Linked DNA regions of Homo sapiens: all the other regions are linked to region 1. Evidence: promoter capture Hi-C in 16 types of primary human blood cells and fetal thymus (Javierre and others, 2016). All regions are on one chromosome and are shown on one strand. Each heading gives the region's core, a stretch centred on a gene start or on the middle of the fragment in contact. The rest is flanking DNA. Distances are from core to core; before and after follow the strand shown.

What was found. The method cuts DNA at HindIII sites, captures the fragments that hold promoters and counts their contacts. A CHiCAGO score of 5 or more calls a contact.
Region 2: a contact is called between the fragment with the promoter of ASMTL here and the fragment with the promoter of CD99 in region 1, in 1 of 17 cell types (non-activated CD4 T cells). The highest score is 5.4, in non-activated CD4 T cells.
Region 3: the fragment with the promoter of SLC25A6 here is called in contact with the fragment with the promoter of CD99 in region 1 in 4 of 17 cell types (naive B cells, naive CD8 T cells, total CD8 T cells and 1 more); the score reaches 6.3 in naive B cells.
Region 4: a contact is called between a fragment that was not itself captured here and the fragment with the promoter of CD99 in region 1, in 2 of 17 cell types (total B cells and activated CD4 T cells). The highest score is 5.1, in total B cells.
Region 5: a fragment that was not itself captured here is called in contact with the fragment with the promoter of CD99 in region 1 in 1 of 17 cell types (total CD4 T cells); the score reaches 5.9 in total CD4 T cells.
Region 6: a fragment that was not itself captured here is called in contact with the fragment with the promoter of CD99 in region 1 in 8 of 17 cell types (non-activated CD4 T cells, naive CD8 T cells, activated CD4 T cells and 5 more); the score reaches 11.8 in non-activated CD4 T cells.
Region 7: a fragment that was not itself captured here is called in contact with the fragment with the promoter of CD99 in region 1 in 4 of 17 cell types (fetal thymus, activated CD4 T cells, non-activated CD4 T cells and 1 more); the score reaches 15.6 in fetal thymus.

Annotation. Positions count from the first base shown.
Region 1 is chrX:2,690,043-2,692,742 of GRCh38, reverse strand. CD99 (CD99 molecule (Xg blood group)) reads right to left here and starts at 1,448. Exons shown (of 10, transcript NM_002414.5): 1 at 1,316-1,448. The coding sequence starts at 1,382. The HindIII fragment of the contact is 9,076 bases long and covers 1-2,700 here.
Region 2 is chrX:1,451,469-1,454,168 of GRCh38, reverse strand. ASMTL (acetylserotonin O-methyltransferase like) reads left to right here and starts at 1,260. Exons shown (of 13, transcript NM_004192.4): 1 at 1,260-1,421. The coding sequence starts at 1,329. The HindIII fragment of the contact is 27,509 bases long and covers 1-2,700 here.
Region 3 is chrX:1,390,743-1,393,463 of GRCh38, reverse strand. It overlaps SLC25A6 (solute carrier family 25 member 6), which reads left to right and starts at 1,351. Exons shown (of 4, transcript NM_001636.4): 1 at 1,351-1,565. The coding sequence starts at 1,455. LOC124900597 (serine/arginine repetitive matrix protein 1-like) reads right to left here and starts at 1,456. Exons shown (of 5, transcript XM_011546186.2): 1 at 1,233-1,456; 2 at 701-1,122. The coding sequence starts at 1,456. RefSeq lists enhancers at 851-1,453, 897-1,491, 1,492-2,087. The HindIII fragment of the contact is 29,130 bases long and covers 1-2,721 here.
Region 4 is chrX:1,214,560-1,217,259 of GRCh38, reverse strand. No RefSeq gene overlaps it. Among named protein-coding and RNA genes, the nearest start is that of CRLF2, 3.3 kb to the right of the region's middle. The HindIII fragment of the contact is 2,301 bases long and covers 194-2,494 here.
Region 5 is chrX:993,101-995,800 of GRCh38, reverse strand. No RefSeq gene overlaps it. Among named protein-coding and RNA genes, the nearest start is that of CRLF2, 220 kb to the left of the region's middle. The HindIII fragment of the contact is 232 bases long and covers 1,181-1,412 here.
Region 6 is chrX:1,251,926-1,254,625 of GRCh38, reverse strand. No RefSeq gene overlaps it. Among named protein-coding and RNA genes, the nearest start is that of CSF2RA, 16 kb to the left of the region's middle. The HindIII fragment of the contact is 8,598 bases long and covers 1-2,700 here.
Region 7 is chrX:1,469,478-1,472,177 of GRCh38, reverse strand. All of the region lies in intron 1 of P2RY8 (P2Y receptor family member 8), which reads left to right. Among named protein-coding and RNA genes, the nearest start is that of ASMTL, 18 kb to the right of the region's middle. The HindIII fragment of the contact is 1,532 bases long and covers 682-2,213 here.

The DNA of each region.
Region 1 (2,700 bases), core at 199-2,698:
CTGGGGAACAAATGCAGCTGATAAAACCCTACAGAGCCATCCCGTCCGTGGTGACAGGTTGCCCGCAAGAAGGACATTTAGGAAGAAAAGGGAGAAACAGGAAGCTCTGCTTGGAACCTCCCCTGCAGGCTGGAAAGTCCTCCAAGTTTTCCTCTACGGAGCAGGCTTCATTATCTCTAATCTCTACCAAGTGAAAGCACAATTTCTAGGATACCCGGGACCCCTTTAAAGAGGGTGTAAATCCATTAGCAACTCCTCCCTAAAAATAGAGACCCGGCCTAGTCACCGCAGCTCTAGGCTGAGCTAGATCCTATCAACACAAATCGGGCCTCCTCCGTCCTCCCCAGGGCCGGGCGTTCCCGCGTCTCCTTCCTAAATACGTCCAGCCCTGATAAGGCCCGTCCTGAAGTCCACACTGCCCGCAAGCCGGTCTACTTAAAAGCCTGCCCATACGAAGAGCAAAAAATGCACTGACCATTGAAAAAAGAATTTATAACATGAAAAAAGAATTTATAACATACCACATCCGGCAGGGTCTCCGTTTCCGTTTCAAAGGGAGGGAAACAGAAAAACATGATTAAAGTAATAATTAGAAATAGGCCCGGTTTAGGGCGTGGGAGGGTGACCGTGGCTCTTTCTTCCCTGCCCACTTTTTCTGTTTTCCGAATTCTCCACCGCCGCAGATGGACAATTTGGTAAGCACACGTTTCTTTCTGCGCCCCGTGTTGCTTGGCGCACAGCACGCGCTGAAATTCCCGGAGCCCGCATCCACAGAGTATTTTTGAACATTTTCAGGGCTCAAAGTTTTTTTCTAACTTTTCCTTCCCTTCCCCCCACCACCCGGGTCTCAGGCTCCTAGCGATTCCAAATTTAGGCCCGGGACGCAGGGCGTGGCTGTGACAGGCAACTCCAGGGCGGCCTCCGCGCGCGGCCTGAAGACGCAGGTCCCCAAACCCTGGGGGTAGATAACGGGGTGGGGTGAGGGGCTCATGCAAAGGGAGAGAGATCTGTAAGAAGGTCCCCTAGATTGGGAAAAATCGGACGCACCTCTCCCAAGGCCGCCCCACATGTAAGAGTTTGCAACTCCGACAACAAACGCTGACTTTTCTCTCTGGAACGGCTCCAGGAAAAGCGTTGGGGAGAAAGTGGGCGCCTCCTCCGGGCCTGGGCCCCCGTGGGCACAGCGCGTCCTGCCGGGCAGGGAGGAGGCTCCGGGTGTCCCCGCGGGGCGCCCCCAACGCCGCATCTCAAGCGGATCCCCAGTCCCGGCCCGCGCCCTCCGCGTCCCCCAACCCGGATCCCTCCGCTCGCTCACCCGGGGCGGCGACCAGAACACCCAGCAGGCCGAAGAGCAGCAGCGCCAGCGCAGCCCCGCGGGCCATGGTGCGCCCAGAGCGCGCAGGGACGGTCCCGGAGTGCAGGGCGTGGGCGAAGGCGGCAGGACAGATACTCCCCCACGGGCCGGGTGGGGCGAAGCCCGGGGACTCGAAGGGGGCGGGTGAGGGGAGCGGCCCTGCAAGCTCAGCGCCGGCTGCGCCCGCCCCGCCCCGGCCTCCACGCGCGCACAGAAGGGGCGGGAACGCCGGGCCCGGGGAGGAGACAGAGGGGGTAGGCGGGCGGGGGTGGCCCAGGCAGCGCCGAGGGGAGTACGGTACACGCCCCGCCCCTTCTCAGGAAACTGCCCACGCCCCCTCACCCACCCACAGGGCCGTAGCCAGGGCGGCGCCGACCCGAAGCAAAGTGAACTACAACGTTCTCGGGAAAGTGCGGGTCCCTCCCGGTTTACAGCCCTCTGAATGCACGCCCGAGGGCGGCCCTTAACTGTAGTGGCACAAAACTGCCGCCCTTCTTGGAAACATAGAGCCCCCTCTCCCCACTCGCCCCTGCAGCCACTTCTCCGCCCCTCACCCCCTGGTCTCCAGTGGGAGCAAAAAAACAAACTTTCCCAGCAGCTCCCCTGCTCGGGAAAGTGCGGGTCCCTCCCTGTCTACAGCCTCCTAAATGCACGCCTGCAACTGTAGCGACACGAAACTGCCGCCCTTCTTGGAAACGTGTAGCCCCCCTCCCCACTCGCCCCTGCAGCCCCTTCTCCGCCCCTAGCAGGGACCCTCCCCTGCTCTGCAGTGGGAGCAGAGGAAACTCCCGGCTCCCCTGCTGGGAAAAGTATGGGGGCCCCTCCCCGCTGCTCACCTCAGGGAGTTCCCCAAGGGGAGCAAAGTGCAATCCTCTCCCTGCTCAGGAAGCCTAGGCCCCCGCTCCACAGGCAACCCCCGTCCCAAGTCCTTTCTAGAGCGTCCGAGCGCGGGGTGCGCAGCCGGGAGGGTGGCGGACGAACCCTTTGCGCCGGACCAAGGACAACCCTTGGAGTAGCCTCTGCGCTGGGGCAGTTTCTCCCCAGAATCCCCAGGACAAGGTTGGGAGTGGGGACTCCTGGTCACGGGAGTTAGTGAGGGGCAATAGGGAACGAGGTGCCTTCTATCTGGGGCACCTGGGCCCTAGTCCTGGTCATGGGCGACTCGCCTTCCAGTGGGCTTTGAGTTTAGACACCCTCCCGCGCCACTGGCCACAGCTGCAGTGCAGTTGTCGCCCTTCCCACACTTAACAATGTTATCTGTTAACACCTAAGCCTAAAATTGTATCCATTTTCCCGCAGGGTAGTGGAACAACTTTGCAGCCTGACAAATAACCCTGAATATTCTT
Region 2 (2,700 bases), core at 11-2,510, 1.2 Mb after region 1:
CCACAAGGACCCCCACCTTCTCCACGCCCCTCCCACCAGGCACGCGGGGACCCCCCCCCCACCCATCTCCCCGCCCTTCCCACCCGGCCCGCGGGGACCCCCATATCCATACCCCTCCGAGCATTCTCGCGGGGACCCTCATCTCCAAACCCCTCCCACCATCCCCGCGGGGATCCCCATCTCCACGCCCCTCCCACCAGGCCCGTGGACACCCCCATCTCCACGCCCCTCCCACCAGGCCCGTGGACACCCCCATCTCCACGCCCCTCCCACCAGGCCCGTGGACACCCCCATCTCCACGCCCCTCCCACCAGGCCCGTGGACACCCCCATCTCCACGCCCCTCCCACCAGGCCCGTGGACACCCCCATCTCCACGCCCCTCCCACCAGGCCCGTGGACACCCCCATCTCCACTCCCCTCCCACCAGGCACGAGGACATCCCCATCCCCACGCCACTCGCACCGGGTCCGCGGGGAACCCCCTATCTCTACCTTCCCCGACGCGGCTCCCACAAGACCCCCATCTCTGCGCCGGGCCCCTCCACGTGCGGGTAAGAACCCCCCACCCCCACAACTGCCCACAACCGCAGCTGCGGAAACCCAGCATTTCCACTCCCCACGCCGCGCCTGCAAGGAACCCCAAGTATCCACGCCAGCCTTTCCTCCCCGGGACCCCGCAGCTGCCTGCGCCATTGCAGGTCTTGGCGCCGCAGGCGGGGTGGGGAGGGGCGGGGCGAGCGCCGGGGGCGGGGACGGGGCCCGGGAGGCGGAGCTGGGGGCGGTGCTTCACCAAGCGGCCGGGGCGGTGCCCGGGGGGGAGGCGGGCGGGGGTGTGGCCTGGGCGTGGCCTCACGGGGAGCTCAATGGCGGCGTGGCATGGGCGTGGCCTGGCGGAGAGGGCAAGGAGGTGTGGCCTGGGCGTGGCCTGGCGGAGCGGTCAATGGCGGCGTGACATGGGCGTGGCCTGGCGGAGAGGGCAATGGAGGTGTGGCCTGGGCGTGGCCTGACGGAGAGGGCAATGGAGGCGTGGTCTGGGCGTGGTCTCAGGGGAGATCAATGGGGCGTGACATGGGCGTGGCCTGGTGGAGAGGGCAATGGAGGTGTGGCCTGGGCGAGGCCTGACGGAGTGTTCAATGGAGGCGTGGCCTGGGCGCGGTCTCGCGGGGAGGCCACTGAAGGCGCGGACTGGGCGTGGCCTCGCGGAGGCGGGCGGGGGCGTGGCCTCGCGGAGGCGGGACTCTGGCCGCCTGTTTTTTTTGCAGCCGCGCTGCGCGCACCGCGGGCTCCGGGCTCAGAAGTGCGGACGCCCGGCTCCCGGCGTGGACGCCATGGTGCTGTGCCCGGTGATTGGGAAGCTGCTGCACAAGCGCGTGGTGCTGGCCAGCGCCTCCCCACGCCGTCAGGAGATCCTCAGCAACGCGGTACGGCCTGGGCCTGGGCGGGGCAGGGGACCGGGGACGGAGGGGCTGAACCCCGGAGGGCCCAGCGACTCAGGAACTCTAGGGATAGGGATGGGAGAGTGACCCGAGACCCTTAGGGATGGGGGAGGGGAGAGTGTCCCGGGACCTCCAGGGATAGGGTTGGGGAGAGTGACCCGGAACCTCTAGGGATGGGGGAGGGGAGAGTAACCCGGAACCCCCTAGGCATGGGGGTGGGGAGTGACCTGGGTCCCCATAGGGATGGGGGAGGGGATCGTAACCCGGGACCCCTAGGAATGGGGAGGGTAGAGTGACCCAGGACCGCTAGGGATGGGGACAGCAGAGTGACCCCGGAGCCCCATGGATGGGGATGAGGAGAGTAACCCGGGACCCCCAGGCATGGGGATGGGGAGAGTAACCCGGGACCTCCAGGGTTGGGGATGGGGAGAGTAAGCCGAGACCCCCCCTAGGGATGGGGGTGGGGGAGTAACCCGGGACCCCTAGGGATGGGGGAGAGGAGAGTAACCCGGGACCCCCAGGCATGGGGATGGGGAGAGTAAGCCGAGACCCCCAGGAATGGGGTTGGGGAGAATAACCCGGGACCCCTAGGGATGGGGTTGGGGAGAGTGACCCAGGACCCCCTAGGGATGGGGGAGGGGAGAGTAACCCGGGACCCCCCTAGGGGTGGGGGAGGGGAGAGAAACCCGGGACACCTTAGGGATGGGGTTGGAGAGAGTAACCTGTAACCTGGGACCCCCTAGCGATGGGGGTGGGGAGAGTAACCCAGGACGCCCTAGGCATGTGGTTGGGGAGAGTGACCCGGGACCCCCTAGGGATGGGGAGGGAGGAGTGACCCAGGACCGCTAGGGATGGGGACAGCAGAGTGACCCCGGAGCCCCATGGATGGGGATGGGGAGAGTAACCCGGGACCCCCAGGCATGGGGATGGGGAGAGTAACCCGGGACCTCCAGGGTTGGGGATAGGGAGAGTAAGCCGAGACCCCCCTAGGGATGGGGGTGGGGAGAGTAACCCGGGACCCCTAGGGATGGGGGAGAGGAGAGTAACCCGGGACCCCTAGGAATGGGGAGGTCAAGTGACCCGGGACCCCCCTAGGGATGGGGGTGGGGAGAGTGACCCGAAACCCCTAGGCATGGGGTTGCAGGGAGTGACCCAGAACCCCCTAGGAATGGGGATGGGAGAGTAACCTGGGACCCCCTAGGGATGGGGGAGGGGAGAGTAAGCCGGGATCCCCCTAGGGATGGGGGTAGGGAGAGTAACCCGG
Region 3 (2,721 bases), core at 102-2,601, 1.3 Mb after region 1:
TCTCAAAAGAAAAAAAAAACGGAAAAGAGAGAGGGGAGAAAGGGACGAGAGGAAGGGAGACAGGAAATAAAGAGGAAAAGGAAAAGAGAGGGAAGGAGGGAAAGGCAGAAAAGGGAGGAAGGGAAGGAAAGAGGAAAAGGGAAGGAGAGACGGAAAGAGGGAGAAAAAAGAGGGAGGGAGCAAAGAAAAAACAGAGGAAGGGCGGAGGGAGAAAAGCAGAAAAAGGAAGGAAAAAAATGAAAAAGAGGGAAGAAACGTAGCAAGAAAGGAAGGAGAAAGGGAGAGAGAAATGAAAGAAAAAGGGAGGGAGGGAAACGAAGGCAGAGACGGAAAGACGGAGAAAAAGGAGGGAGGCGGGAAAGCAGCAAAAAGCAAAGGCAAGCAGGGAAGGAAGAGACGGGGAGAAAAGGGCGGGCGGGAGAGAGCCGGGAAGGGAGAGGAGGCGGGAGGAGGGAGGAGGGAGGCGGGAGGGAGGGAGGAGGGAGGCGGGAGGGAGGGAGGGAGGGAGGGAGGAAGGGCGGAGTGGGAGGTCGCGAAGGAGGACCCCGGCCGCAGCCCCCGCCGGGCAGACACGGGCACAGACACGGGGAAATAGGGGAGCCCGGGCGGGTGGGCGCGGCCCACGGAACCCCCAGCCCCGGCGCGGAGGGCACCGCGGGGTCAAAGAACGGAGGCCCAGAGAGATCCCCCCCCCACCAACCTAGGCCGGGCGCGGAGGGCGGCGCGGAGTCACGGATCGGCAGCGGGACTGAGCCGCGCCCACGTGGAAGCCGCCGCAGGCTTCGCGCGGGGCCCCCCGGGTGCACGCGGGCAGGGGCCGGGGTCTCCCGACGCACGACCCCGGAGAGTGTTGAAAGGGTCGGAGCTGCCCGGAGGTCAAGGGTCAAGGGTCGGGGGTCGGGGCACCACATGTCGCACATCCCGGCGGGGTCGCCGCGGCCTCCGGGAGAAAGCGGACGACGCACTCGGAGCGAACTGGGCATCAGGGTGGGCTTCTGACTCCGCAGCTGCCCTCCCGCCCGCTCGGGTACTGGCAGCGGCCTGACCTTCACAAGGTCAAGGCTGCCGCGGAACCCCCAGCGGCCCCTACGGCGCATGGGCGGGGCCTGGCTCCCGGCATACCTAGGGGTGCGGGGCGGGACGTCTCCGGGGAGCGCAGCCAATGGGCGCGGTTCGCTGGAGTGCGGGGCGGGACGCAGCGGGATTCCCGGCAGCCCTCAGAGGCGAGGCACGCAGGCTGGTGTGGGGCGGGGCCTGGCGGCGCAGCCAATGAGCGCGGCGCGAGGAGGCGCGGGGGCGGAGAGTGGGCGTGGCGTCGGCGTCTTAGCGGCTGCGCGGTGGCTGCTCCGTCCTTTCGGTCCAGGCGGCGGCAGGGCTGAGCCAGCGACGCCCTCCATTCACTCTCCGCGCCCGTTCTCCGGCTGTCCTCCCGTTCCGCTGCCCGCCCTGCCACCATGACGGAACAGGCCATCTCCTTCGCCAAAGACTTCTTGGCCGGAGGCATCGCCGCCGCCATCTCCAAGACGGCCGTGGCTCCGATCGAGCGGGTCAAGCTGCTGCTGCAGGTGGGGACGCGGGCGCGGCCGCTCCGGGGACTAGGGGACGGGAACCGAGTGGCCGGGTCGGGCGGGGACGTGGGCAGCAGAGCCTTGCAGGCGGGCGCCGGAAGTGGAAGGCCGCGATCGCTTTGTCCACGCGCCGCCGGCTTCCGGGGGCCGCGTCACGTGACCGCTGCTGCAGGGCGTGGCGACGTCCACGCGTGCGCACTGGGCCCGGCGGGCGGGGGGAAATGCGGCACGGATTGGAGGGCGCATGCGCGCTGAGCAGGGCCCATGGACGGACCCTGCGGCTGGCGGGCCTTGACCTTGAGCTCAATCCTGCGGGTCCCCCGGCTGGGACCAACCCTTCCGGTGGATGCCTGGCAGGTGTCTGCTCTTGCTCCCTCCACCGTGAAGGGTAATTCTAAGGCCAATAGGGCAACGAGCCTGCCCGCAGGTGTCCTGGAATAACCAGGATATGGTTATTGGTGGTTCTTACCCCCTTCTTAGCTCATTTGTGCAATTCTGATCCAGAGCAATGCATTTTTTGTCTTTTGGGAGAGGCTTATAGAAAGTAGCATGATGCCTAGGAACATTGCCGCCAGGACGTCCTTGCTAACGTTGTACTCCGAGTGACAGCTCGGTGATGGGAATGAATAGGCTTGGCTGCAAGGACAGGTCACGCCCGCGATCCCAGCGCTTTTGAGAGGCCCGGGGAGTATTGCTTGAGGCCAGGAGTTTGAGAGCAGCCGGGGCCACACAGCAAGACCTCACCTCAAAAAAAATTATTTTAACTTAACGAAGCAGGACGTCCCAGTGCATTGAGAGGCCCGGAGAGGATCGCGTGAGCTCAGGAGTTTGAGACCAGCCTGGGCAACAGAGCAAGACCGCATCTCTAAGATAATTTTTTAAACCTAGTACAGGGTGGCGTGTCCCGGGAGTTTGAGACCAGCCAGGACAACATAGCAAGACCCCATCTCTAAGAAAATTTTTAAAACTTAGCAGGCGGGGTGTCCCCGCACTTTGAGAGGCCCAGGGAGGATCGCCTGAGCTCAGGAGTTTGAGACCAGCCAGGGCAACATAGCAAGACCCCGTCTCTAAGAAAAAGTTTTAAACTTAGCAGGGCGGGGTGTCCCAGCACTCGGAGAGGCCCAGGGAGGATCGTTTGAGCCCAGGAGTTTGA
Region 4 (2,700 bases), core at 95-2,594, 1.5 Mb after region 1:
TTTTGTATTTTCAGTAGAGACAGGGTTTCACTATGTTGTCCAGGCTGGTCTTGAACTCTTGGCCTCAGGTGATCCACCCGCCTCGTCCTCCCAAAGTATTGGGATTACAGGCATGAGCCACCGCGCCCGGCCACTTCCCCTTTTCCCAGCGCTCACCATGACCATGTCCAGAGCATACGTACTTATTTAAGCTTCGTCTCGTCCTACAGAACGCATTCTTCACGAGGGCAGGGAGTCCTGTCTGTTTGTAGGCCAACCTCCTTTCTCTCTCTCTGCAGACTTGCCTACTTTGCATGCGACAGTATCTACTGTCCAGTAGTAACAGTGGACGTTGATTGGGGGCTGAATTCAGAACAATGCTCAATGTTTTATGTATATTATCACTTTGTCTCTCTGAGCTAGGTGATATTATTGTCACCTCCCCAGTGCCTGGGAGATAACAGACCCTCAACAAATGTATCTTGAGTGAGTATTGAATGAAGCCATTTCTGTCATCTGTAGAAGCAGAAGTTGTGGAGGGTCCTGGGCAGAGATGCTTTTTTTTTTTTTTTTTTTTTTTTGAGACAGAGTCTTGCCCTGTCACCAGGCTGGAATGCAGTGGTGCCATCTCGGCTCACTGCAACCTCCGCCTCCCGGGTTCCAGCGATTCTCCTGCCTCACCCTCCCGAGCAGCTGGGATAACAGGTGCATGCCACCACGCCTGGCTAATTTTTCTATTTTTAGTGGAGACAGGGTTTCACCATGTTGGTCTCTAACTCCAGAAGTCAGATGATCCTCCCGCCTCAGCCTCCCAAAGTGCTGGGATTACAGGCACCTGCCACCACGCCTGGCTAATTTTTGTATTTTTAGTAGAGACGGAGTTTCTCCATGTTGGCCAGGCTGGTCTTGAACTCCTGACCTCAGGTGATCCTCCCGCCTCGGCCTCACAAAGTGCTGGGATGACAGGCATGAACCAATGAGCCCGGCAGGAGATGGTTCTTGAGGCTCACACTTCCTTCTTGTCCCCTACTCTCTACAGGGTTCCGTGAGACATGGTATTCTGGTCAACGTTGTCATCTAACCTTTCACACTGTGTCATTATTTGGATTATTTTATCTCTTCCATGACGAACCATGGAGCTCAGAGCTCTCAATAATGAAAGCATTGGGCGGGGCGCGGTGGCTCATGCCCATCATCCCAGCATTTTGGGAGGCTGAGGCTGGCGGATCACGAGGTCAGGAGATCGAGACCATCCTGGCTAATATGGTGAAACCCTGTCTCTACTGAAAATACAAAAATAAGCCGGGCGTGGTGGTGGGCACCCGTAGTCCCAGCTACTCGGGAGGCTGAGGCAGGAGAATGGCGTGAACCCTGAAGGTGGAGCTTGCAGTGAGCAGAGATCACACCACTGCACTCCAGCCTGGGCGACAGAGCAAGACTCCGTCTCAAAAAAACAAAAAACAAAAAAACAGAAAAACAAAAAAGGAGCCAGGTGTGGTGGCAGGTGCCTGTAATCCCAGCTACTCGGCAGGCTGAGGCAGGAGAACTGCTTGAACCAGAGAGGCAGAAGTTGCAGTGAGCTGAGATTGCACCATTGCACTCCAGCCTGGGCAGCAAGAGAAACTCCGTCTCAAAAAATAACCCCTCAAAAACAGAAAAACAAAAAATCAGCCAGGTGTGGTGGCAGGTGCCTGTTGCTTGAACCCAAGAGGCAGAAGTTGCAGTGAGCTGAGATTGCACCATTGCACTCCAGCCTGGGTGACAGAGGGAGACTCTCCACCTCAAAAAAACATAAAACAAATGTTAGTGGTCTCAAACTGGTCACTCACGGTTAATCCAATCTTCCTGCTGTCAAGCAAAAGAACACCTAAAATTCTTCCGTCACGTACTGGAGAAAGATCCTGCATTTGTGCTCTGAAAGTCCCCAAACCGCATCTCTAAACAGTTCCCACAATCACTTCTGCTTTGCTTGTACGAAGGAGTGGTGGCAACCAACAGGAATCACCTGCTCTGCCTGGCACACTTGTGTTTTGACCGCAAGGAATCTCCAGGCATGAGCCGAGATCTTTTAAGATGACATGTCTGTTCCAACCAGCTCTCTCCAGACTTTTATTTATTCACTTATTTATTTATTTATATATTTTGAGACGGAGTCTTGCTCTTGTCGCCCAGGCTGGAGTGCCGTGGCACGATCTCAGCTCACTGCCAACTCCGCCTCCCGGGTTCACGCCATTCTCCTGCCTCAGCTTCCTGAGTAGTTGGGATAACAGGCACCCACCACCACGCCCGGCTAATTTTTGTATTTTTAGCAGAGACGGGGTTTCACCGTGTTGGCCAGGCTGGTCTCGAACTCCTGACCTCAGGGGATCCTCCGGCCTCGGCCTCCCAGAGTGCTGGGATGACAGGCGTGAGCCACCGTGCCCGGTCCTCTACAGTCTTAAACTGGGGCCCCATCTACCCAGCATATGCTACCATCACAGTGTTTGTGGTGTTACGAGGAGAATGCCTACAAGCTTGAGTCCCTTGGTCTGGGAAGCTGGTCAGCGGCAAAGGTGAACTCTGCGTTTGTCTGAAGACAGATGAACTATGAAGTCTCTGGATGTCCAGCCCAGCTTGGGTGCAGAGTATATCACAGAACACTGACCACACAACTGCACACTCATCCACGAGTCTCATCATTTAGCAGAGAGCAAGAATTCCGGGCTTAGAAAGTTAGCATGT
Region 5 (2,700 bases), core at 47-2,546, 1.7 Mb after region 1:
ACATACATACATACATACATACATACATAGATACATAGATGGATGATACATGACATGACTCGAGAGATGATAGATGATATAGGTGGATATATAGATGATAGATTAGTGATAGTGGATAGATAGATAATAGATACGTAGATAGACACATAGATGGATAGATAGATATACATAGATGAATGGATAGATAGATGATAGGTTGGTATATAGATAGATAGATGAAATGGATAGACCGATTATACATAAATAGACAAATAAATAAGATGAATGGGTAGATAAAGAGATGTGATGGATGGATAGATGATAGATAGATAGATAGATAGATAGATAGATAGATAGATAGATAGGGCCAGGCACGGTGGCTCACGCCTGTAATCCCAGCACTTTGGGAGGCCGAGGCGGGCGGATCACGAGGTCAGGAGATCGAGACCACGGTGAAACCCCATCTCTACTAAAAATACAAAAAATTAGCCGGGCATGGTGGCGGGCGCCTGTAGTCCCAGCTACTCGGGAGGCTGAGGCAGGAGAATGGCGTGAACCTGGGAGGCGGAGCTTGCAGTGAGCCGAGATTGCGCCATTGCACTCCAGCCTGGGCGACAGAGTGACACTCTGTCTCAAAAAAAAAAAAAAAAAGATAGATAGATAGATACATAGATAGATAGATAAAGATGGATGGGTAGTTGATAGATGATGAGATGGGTAGATAAACAGATGGTAGATGACAGATTGACAGGTGATAGTACATAGATGGACACACGATAGATTGATAATAGATAAGGTAGATAGATGATGGATATATAGATAGCTTGATTGATAGATGATAGTTAATAGGTAAGTAGATAGATGATACATGGATAGGAAGACAGATGAGATGGATGACTAGATAGATAGATACATAGATGGATAGATGGCAGGATGAATGGATGGATGGATGGATAGATGAGATGGATGAATAGATAGGTAGGTAGATAGATGAGACGAATGGATAGATGATTGAAAGACAGATAGATGTTAGACAGATAGATAGATGATAGGCAGGTAGGTAGGTAGGCATTTAAAGTTAAATTGCATTCCAGAACCTCTCTCAGTAGACCTAGAGAATGCCAAAACCCAATCCCATGTTGTCAGATAGTTTACAGTATGAATATTCAAAGAGTTTGAGACCCAGGATGGCCGTGAAGCTTTCAGAGAATCTCCAAATTTGCAGACGATAACGCTGTTGAAATACAGAAGAGAAGCCGTCCATGTTGAATGTAGTAACTCCAACTCTCCCTTTAGAAGAATCCCAGAGTTTCTTGCGTCTCAACGCTTTTTTGTAATGTTATTTCATTACACAGAATACAGAAACCATAAAAAGTGCACGTAAACATTCAATTAGACTTGATGTGTCTCTGTTGAAATCCATCAGATAAGCTTAAACCATGATTAAGATCCTTTCTTTTCTTTTTTTTTTTTGGACATGTTTCCTGCTAAACAGTCTTTCTGCACTTATTAGCGTTTTGTTGACGGTGTGTCCCGTGCACAGTTAATTTCATTTGTCTCCATGCCGTTTCAATCTTCCCTTGATAACGAAGATAGATTTATAAACCCCACTTACCATTGTGTTTTCCTTTTGCCGAAAGCGATGTGAACAAATCAGAAACACAACGGAGTTTTGGGAAATAAGAGAAAGAGACAGAAAAGAAGGAAAGGAACAGAAATACAGCCGATGTCCCACGGACGACGTGTTGACTAGAGTTCTCTCGGAGAGCTGTGCCTGGGTTCACACTGGGTGTGCCTGTTTGCTGCGCACGTGTGTGATGAGATGTGTGGACAAGGACTGAGAAATACAAAAGACATGGGTTAAAATCAGACTCATGGAGGCCGGGCGCGGCGGCTCACGCCTGTAATCCCACCACTTTGAGAGGTTGAGGTGGGAGCATCACTTACCCCAGAAGTTCGAGACCAGACTGGGCAACATAGCAAGACTCTGTGTATATAACTCTGTTCTCAGGCTGCTAATAAAGACATACCTGAGACTGGGTTATTGATTGATTGATTGATTGATTGAGATGGAGTTTTGCTCTTGTCACCCAGGCTGGAGTGCAATGGTGCCATCTCGGCTCACTGCAACCTCCGCCTCCCGGGTTCAAGCGATTCTCCTGCCTCAGCCTCCCGAGTAGCTGGGATTACAGGCACGTGCCAGCACGCCCTGCTAGTTTTGTATTTTTAGTACAGACAGGGTTTCTCCACGTTGGGCAGGCTGGTCTTGAACTCCCGACCTCAGGTGATCCTCCTGCCTCGGCCTCTCAAAGTGCTGGGATGACAGGCATGAGTCACCGCGCCCAGCCCGAGACTGGGTAAAAGATAAAGGAAAGAGGTTTAACGGACTCACAGTTCCACATGGCTGAGGAGACCTCGCAATCATGGCGGAAGGCAAAGGAGGAGCAAAGTCATGTCTTCCATGGTGGCAAGCAAGAGAAAAGGGGAAAGTCCCCTTTATAAAACCATCTGATCTCATGAGACGTCTTCACTATTGTGTGAACAGCAAGGGAAAGACCTGCCCTGTGATTCAGTTACCTCCCACTGGGTAAGTCCCATGACACGTGGGAATTTTGGGAGCTGCAATTTGAGATTTGGGTGGGGACACAGCAAAACCATATCACTGCGTCTACAAAAATATTTCCTTCCTTCCTTCCTTTTCCTTCCTCTTTCCTTCCTTCT
Region 6 (2,700 bases), core at 65-2,564, 1.4 Mb after region 1:
GAGCCGAGATTGCGCCACTGCACTGCAGCCTGGTGACAGAGTGAGACTGTCTCAAAAAAAGAAAAAAGCCAGGCGCAGTGGCTCACGCCTGTAATCCCAGCACTTTGGGAGGCCGAGGTGGGCGGATCACGAGGTCAGGAGATTGAGACCATCCTGGCTAACATGGTGAAACCCCGTCTGTACCAAAAATACAAAAAAAAAATTAGCCAGACGCTGTGGCAGGCGCCTGTAGTCCCAGCTACTCAGTAGGCTGAGGCAGGAGAATCGCTTGAACCTGGGAGGCGGAGGTTGCAGTGAGCCAAGATCGCGCCACTGCACTCCAGCCTGGGCAACAGAGTGAGACTCCGTCTCAAAAAAATAAAAAAGACCCTGGCTTCTCTCTCGCTTCCTTTCTCACCATGTAATTCCTTCTACCCCTTTGCCTTGCACCATGACTGGAAACCCTCCGCCTCCAGTTCTCAGTTCTCCACTTTCCTCGTATGTCACCTTCAGATGACATTGAGCATTTGTTTATTTATACTTCCCTGCCTTTCCAGAAACAATGGTCCTGTGAATCTTTAACCTCCAGTACTAAGGCCAGAACGTGGCCCTGAGGAATGTGTTCAAAGGACTGAGCTCTGAGATTCATCCCAGCACCTGTAAGCGGCTTCCTGTAGGTGCCTGTCCTGGTCTGTGAACCTGGGGATGGTGATATCTTTTGCTTGATGGACACATGGCCCAGAGAATGTCACTGCTTTTACAGACATAGCCTTGTCTGTGCCATCTGCTTGTTCCTTGCTGGGAAGCCCCAGTTCTTTGCCTTCTGCCATGACTGGAAACCCTCCGCCTCCAGTTCTCCGTTCTCTGCTTCCCTCATACGTCACCTTCAGATGATATTGAGCATTTGTTTATTTATACTTCCCTGCCTTTCCAGAAACAATGGTCCCGTGAATCTTTAACCTCCAGTACTAAGGCCAGAACGTGGCCTGGAGGGATGTGTTCAAAGGACCGAGCTCTGAGATTCATCCCAGCACCTGTAAGCGGCTTCCTGTAGGTGCCTGTCCTGGTCTGTGAACATGGGGATGGTGATATCTTTTGCTTGATGGACACATGGCCCAGAGAATGTCACTGCTTTTACAGACATGGCCTTGTCTGTGCCATCTGCTTGTTCCTTGCTGGGAAGCCCCAGTTCTTTGCCTTCTGCCATGACTGGAAACCCTCCGCCTCCAGTTCTCAGTTCTCCGCTTCCCTCGTACGTCACCTTCAGATGACATTGAGCATTTGTTTATTTATACTTCCCTGCCTTTCCAGAAACAATGGTCCCGTGAATCTTTAACCTCCAGTACTAACGCCAGAACGTGGCCCGGAGGGATGTGTTCAAAGGACCGAGCTCTGAGATACATCCCAGCACCTGTAAGCGGCTTCCTGTAGGTGCCTGTCCTGGTCTGTGAACCTGGGGATGGTGATATCTTTTGCTTGATGGACACATGGCCCAGAGAATGTCACTGTTTGAACAGACATAGCCTTGTCTGTGCCATCTCCTTGTTCCTTGCTGGGAAGCCCCAGTTCTCTCTTTAGAATGAGGGATGTGGGCCAGGCAGGGACTTTCTGACCTGAGTTTCCTCTTAGCTGAAAACTGTGGTTCCTGGTCTCCTTCACCTCCCTTTTCTCAGGGGCAGGGATGGGTACCAGGAGGGGGGGTGGTATGAGGTAAAGCTCAGAGACAGACTTTAGATGGTGGGTTGGGCGAGGTGGCTCACACCTATAATCCCAGCACTTTGGGAGGCCGAACAGGGGCATTTAATAAATCTACACATGGGCCGTGCGCAGTGGCTCACACCTGTAATCCCAGCAGTCTGGGAGGCCGAGGCAGGCAGATCACTTGAGGTCAGGAGTTCGAGAGCAGCCTGGTCATCATGGTGAAACCCCATCTCTAACAAAAATACAAAAAAAATAGCTGGGTGTGGTGGCAGTTGGCTGTAATCCCAGCTACTCGGGAGGCTGAGGCAGGAGAATCGATTGAACCTGGGAGGTGGCCGTTGCAGTGAGCTGAGATCATGCCATTGCACTCCAGCCTGGGCAACAAGAGTGAAATTCTATCTCAAAAAATAAATAAAATAAAATAAAAATAATAAATTCACAAGTCGTGATTTTCCTGGAAAATGTTGATGCTGTTGGGAAGGAGAGAAGTCTGAGGACTCAGATAAGCCTGTTCTGCCTCTGAAGCAGCTCGGCGTTGTAATAAGTAAAGGCACCAGTGGGAAAAGTCTCAGGGTGTTGTCTGCTGAAGCAGACTCAATGAGTTTTCCTGTGTGGGGTGGTGGGAAGGTTGGCAGGTAGACCACAAGGCAAATTAAGATAAGCTGGTGACTCCGGCCTTTGGAACAAAGAAATGGAAAACTACAGCCCCAGGCCGGGAGTGGTGGCTCAAGCCTGTAATCCCAGCACTTTGTTTATCATTATTATTTTGAGAGGGAGTCTTCCTCTGTCACCAGGCCTGAGTGCAGGTGGCGCGACCTCTGCTCACTGCAATCTCTGCCTCCCGGGTTCACGCCATTCTCTTGCCTCAGCCTCCTGAGTAGCTGGGATTACTGGCGTGCATCACCATGCCTGGCCAATTTTTGTATTTTTAGTAGAGACGGGGTTTCACCATGTTGGCCAGGATGGTCTCGAACTCCTGACCTCGTGATCCACCCGCCTCGGCCTCCCAAAATGCTGGGA
Region 7 (2,700 bases), core at 198-2,697, 1.2 Mb after region 1:
AAGTAAGAAATGGCCATAATACCGAGAGTATCAGCCAGGGTGTGGCCCACGACAACTTCCTTCTACGTAATCAAAGTAGGTAATTGAAGCCAGCGTCTGTTTTGTCTTCCAAATCCACAGCTCCAACAGAGTGCCATTTGCTGTCTTTGGGGTTGAGGGCCTCCTGAGGCAGCCCTATCAAAAGAACCACAAACTGGGTGGTGCAAACACCCCCAGAAAACAGAAAGGAGAGCAGACGACAAGCACGGGGCTGGCTTGTGGTTCCTTAGGGCTGGGGCCTCTCACTCCCCTGTGTGTTCAACAGCTGGGACAGCCCCCAGCACTCAGGAAAGAGGGGTGGTTATAGCCAGAAGACAATAGCTGGCAAAAAAGGGTCTGTCACCGGCATGCAATCCCTGCTGCCCACGAGGAGATGCCTTTTGTCTATTTCTCATCCCAACCCTGTAAGGTCCACCCGGAACAAGACTGTAGTGATCACTGCACTCAGCATCTGAACCCTTTAGAAAGGGGTTCCCAGGGCTGGGAATGAGGGAAGAGCAGCTTTATGCACAATAGCCAAGAATCAGGAACACGCCAGGCGCGGTGGCTCACACCTGTCATCCCAGCACTTTGGGAGGCCGAGGCGGGCAGATCATGGGAGGTCAGGAGTTTGAGACCAGCCTGGCCAACATGATGAAAGCTTGTCGCTACTAAAATTATTAAAAAAAAAAAATGGGCTGGGTGTGATGGCTCGTGCCTGTAATCCCAGCACTTTGGGAGGCCGAGGAGGGTGGATCATACATCAGAGGTCAGGAGTTTGAGACCAGCCTGGCCAACATGATGAAACCCCGTCGTTACTAAAATTACAAAAAAAAAAAAAAAAAAAAAATGGGCTGGGCGCGGTGGCTCACGTCTGTAGTCCCAGCACTTTGGGAGACTGAGGAGGGTGGATCACCTGAGGTCAGCAGTTCACAACCAGCCTGGCCAACATGGTGAAACCCTGTCTCTACTAAAAATACAAAAATTAGCTGGGTGCGGTGATGCATGCCTGTAGTCCCAGCTACTCCAGAGGCTGAGGCAGGAAAATTGCTTGAACCGGGGAAGCGGAGGTTGCCGAGAGCCGAGATCACACCATTGCACTCCAGCCTGGGCAAAAAGAGCGAAACTCCCTCTCAAAAAAAAAATTACAAAAAAATTAGCCAGGCGTGGTGGCAGGTTCCTGTAGCCCCAGCTACTTGGGAGGCTGAGGCAGGAGAATTGCTTGAACCCAGGAGGCGGAGGTTGCACTGAGCCAAGATCGCACCACTACACTCCAGCCTGGGCAACAGAGCAAGACTCCATCTCAAAAAAAAAAAAAAAAATCAGAAAGAACAAAAATGTCCATCCACAGGAGAATGAATAAACAGAATGTGGTCTATCCACACAGTAGACTATTATGCACCCACTGAAAGGACTCAAGCTCTGACCCAGGCTGCAGCGTGGATGAACTTTGAAGACCCCTGGCTCAGTGACAGAAGCTAGACACAAAAGACCACATATTGTAGAATTTTATTCTTATAAAATATCTAGAATAGGCAGATCCACAGAGACAGGAAGCAGATTTGAGGTTCACAGGGGCTGGGGACAGGAACGAACAGGATTAGCAGTTGTGGGGTTCTGAAGGGTTTTTGTTTTGTTTTGAGATGGAGTTTTGCTTTTGTTGCCCAGGCTGGAGTGCAATGGTGTGATCTCGGCTCACTGCAACCTCTGCCCCCTACCCAGGTTCAAGCGATTCTCCTGCCTTAGCCTCTGGAGTAGCTGGGATTACAGGCATGTGCCACAACACCCGGTTAATTTTTTTTGTATTTTTAGTAGAGACAGGGTTTCACCATGTTGGGAAGGCTGGTCTTGAACTCCTGACCTCAGGTGATCCACCTGCCTCGGCCTCCCAAAGTGATGGGATTACAGACGTGAGTCACCGCGCCTGGCCCATTTGTTTTTGTTTGTTTGTTTGTTTAATTTTAGTAACAACAGGATTTCACCATGTTGGCCAGGCTGGTCTCGAACTCCTGACCTCAGGTGATCCACCTGCCTCGGCCTCCCAAAGTGCTGGAATTACAGGTGTGAGCCATGATGCCCGGCCAGGTCCTGAGTTTTGTTTAGGGATAAAAATGGTTCTGGAATTGCATTATGGTGTTGTTTGCACATCTGTGAATATATTAAAAACCATTGAACTGTATGAATGAGTGAAAGCTTATGGTACGTAACTCACGTCTTGGTAAAGCTGTTTTTTTGTTTGTTGGTTTTGTTTTGTTTTGAGACAGAGTCTCGCTCTGTTGCCCAGGCTGGATGGAGTACAGTGGTGCGATCTCGGCTCACTGCAAGCTCCGCCTCCCGGGTTCAGGCCATTCTCCTGCCTCAGCCTCCCGAGTAGCTGGGACTCGCCACCATGCCACCACGCCCGGCTAATTTTTTTGTTTTTTTGTTTTTTTAGTAGAGATGGGGTTTCACCGTGTTAGCCAGGATGGTCTTGATCTCCTGACCTCGTGATCTGCCCACCTCGGCCTTCCAAAGTGCTGGGATTACAGGTGTGAGCCACCGTGCCCGGCTGGCAAAGCTGTTTTAAGAAGAAATAAGTGAGAGGGCTGGAGGAGATACACACAGACCCTCAAGAGGAGAGAAACATTGCTGGATGCATTGCTGCCAGACAGGTGTGCATTTACCTGCAAAGCATAAGAAAAA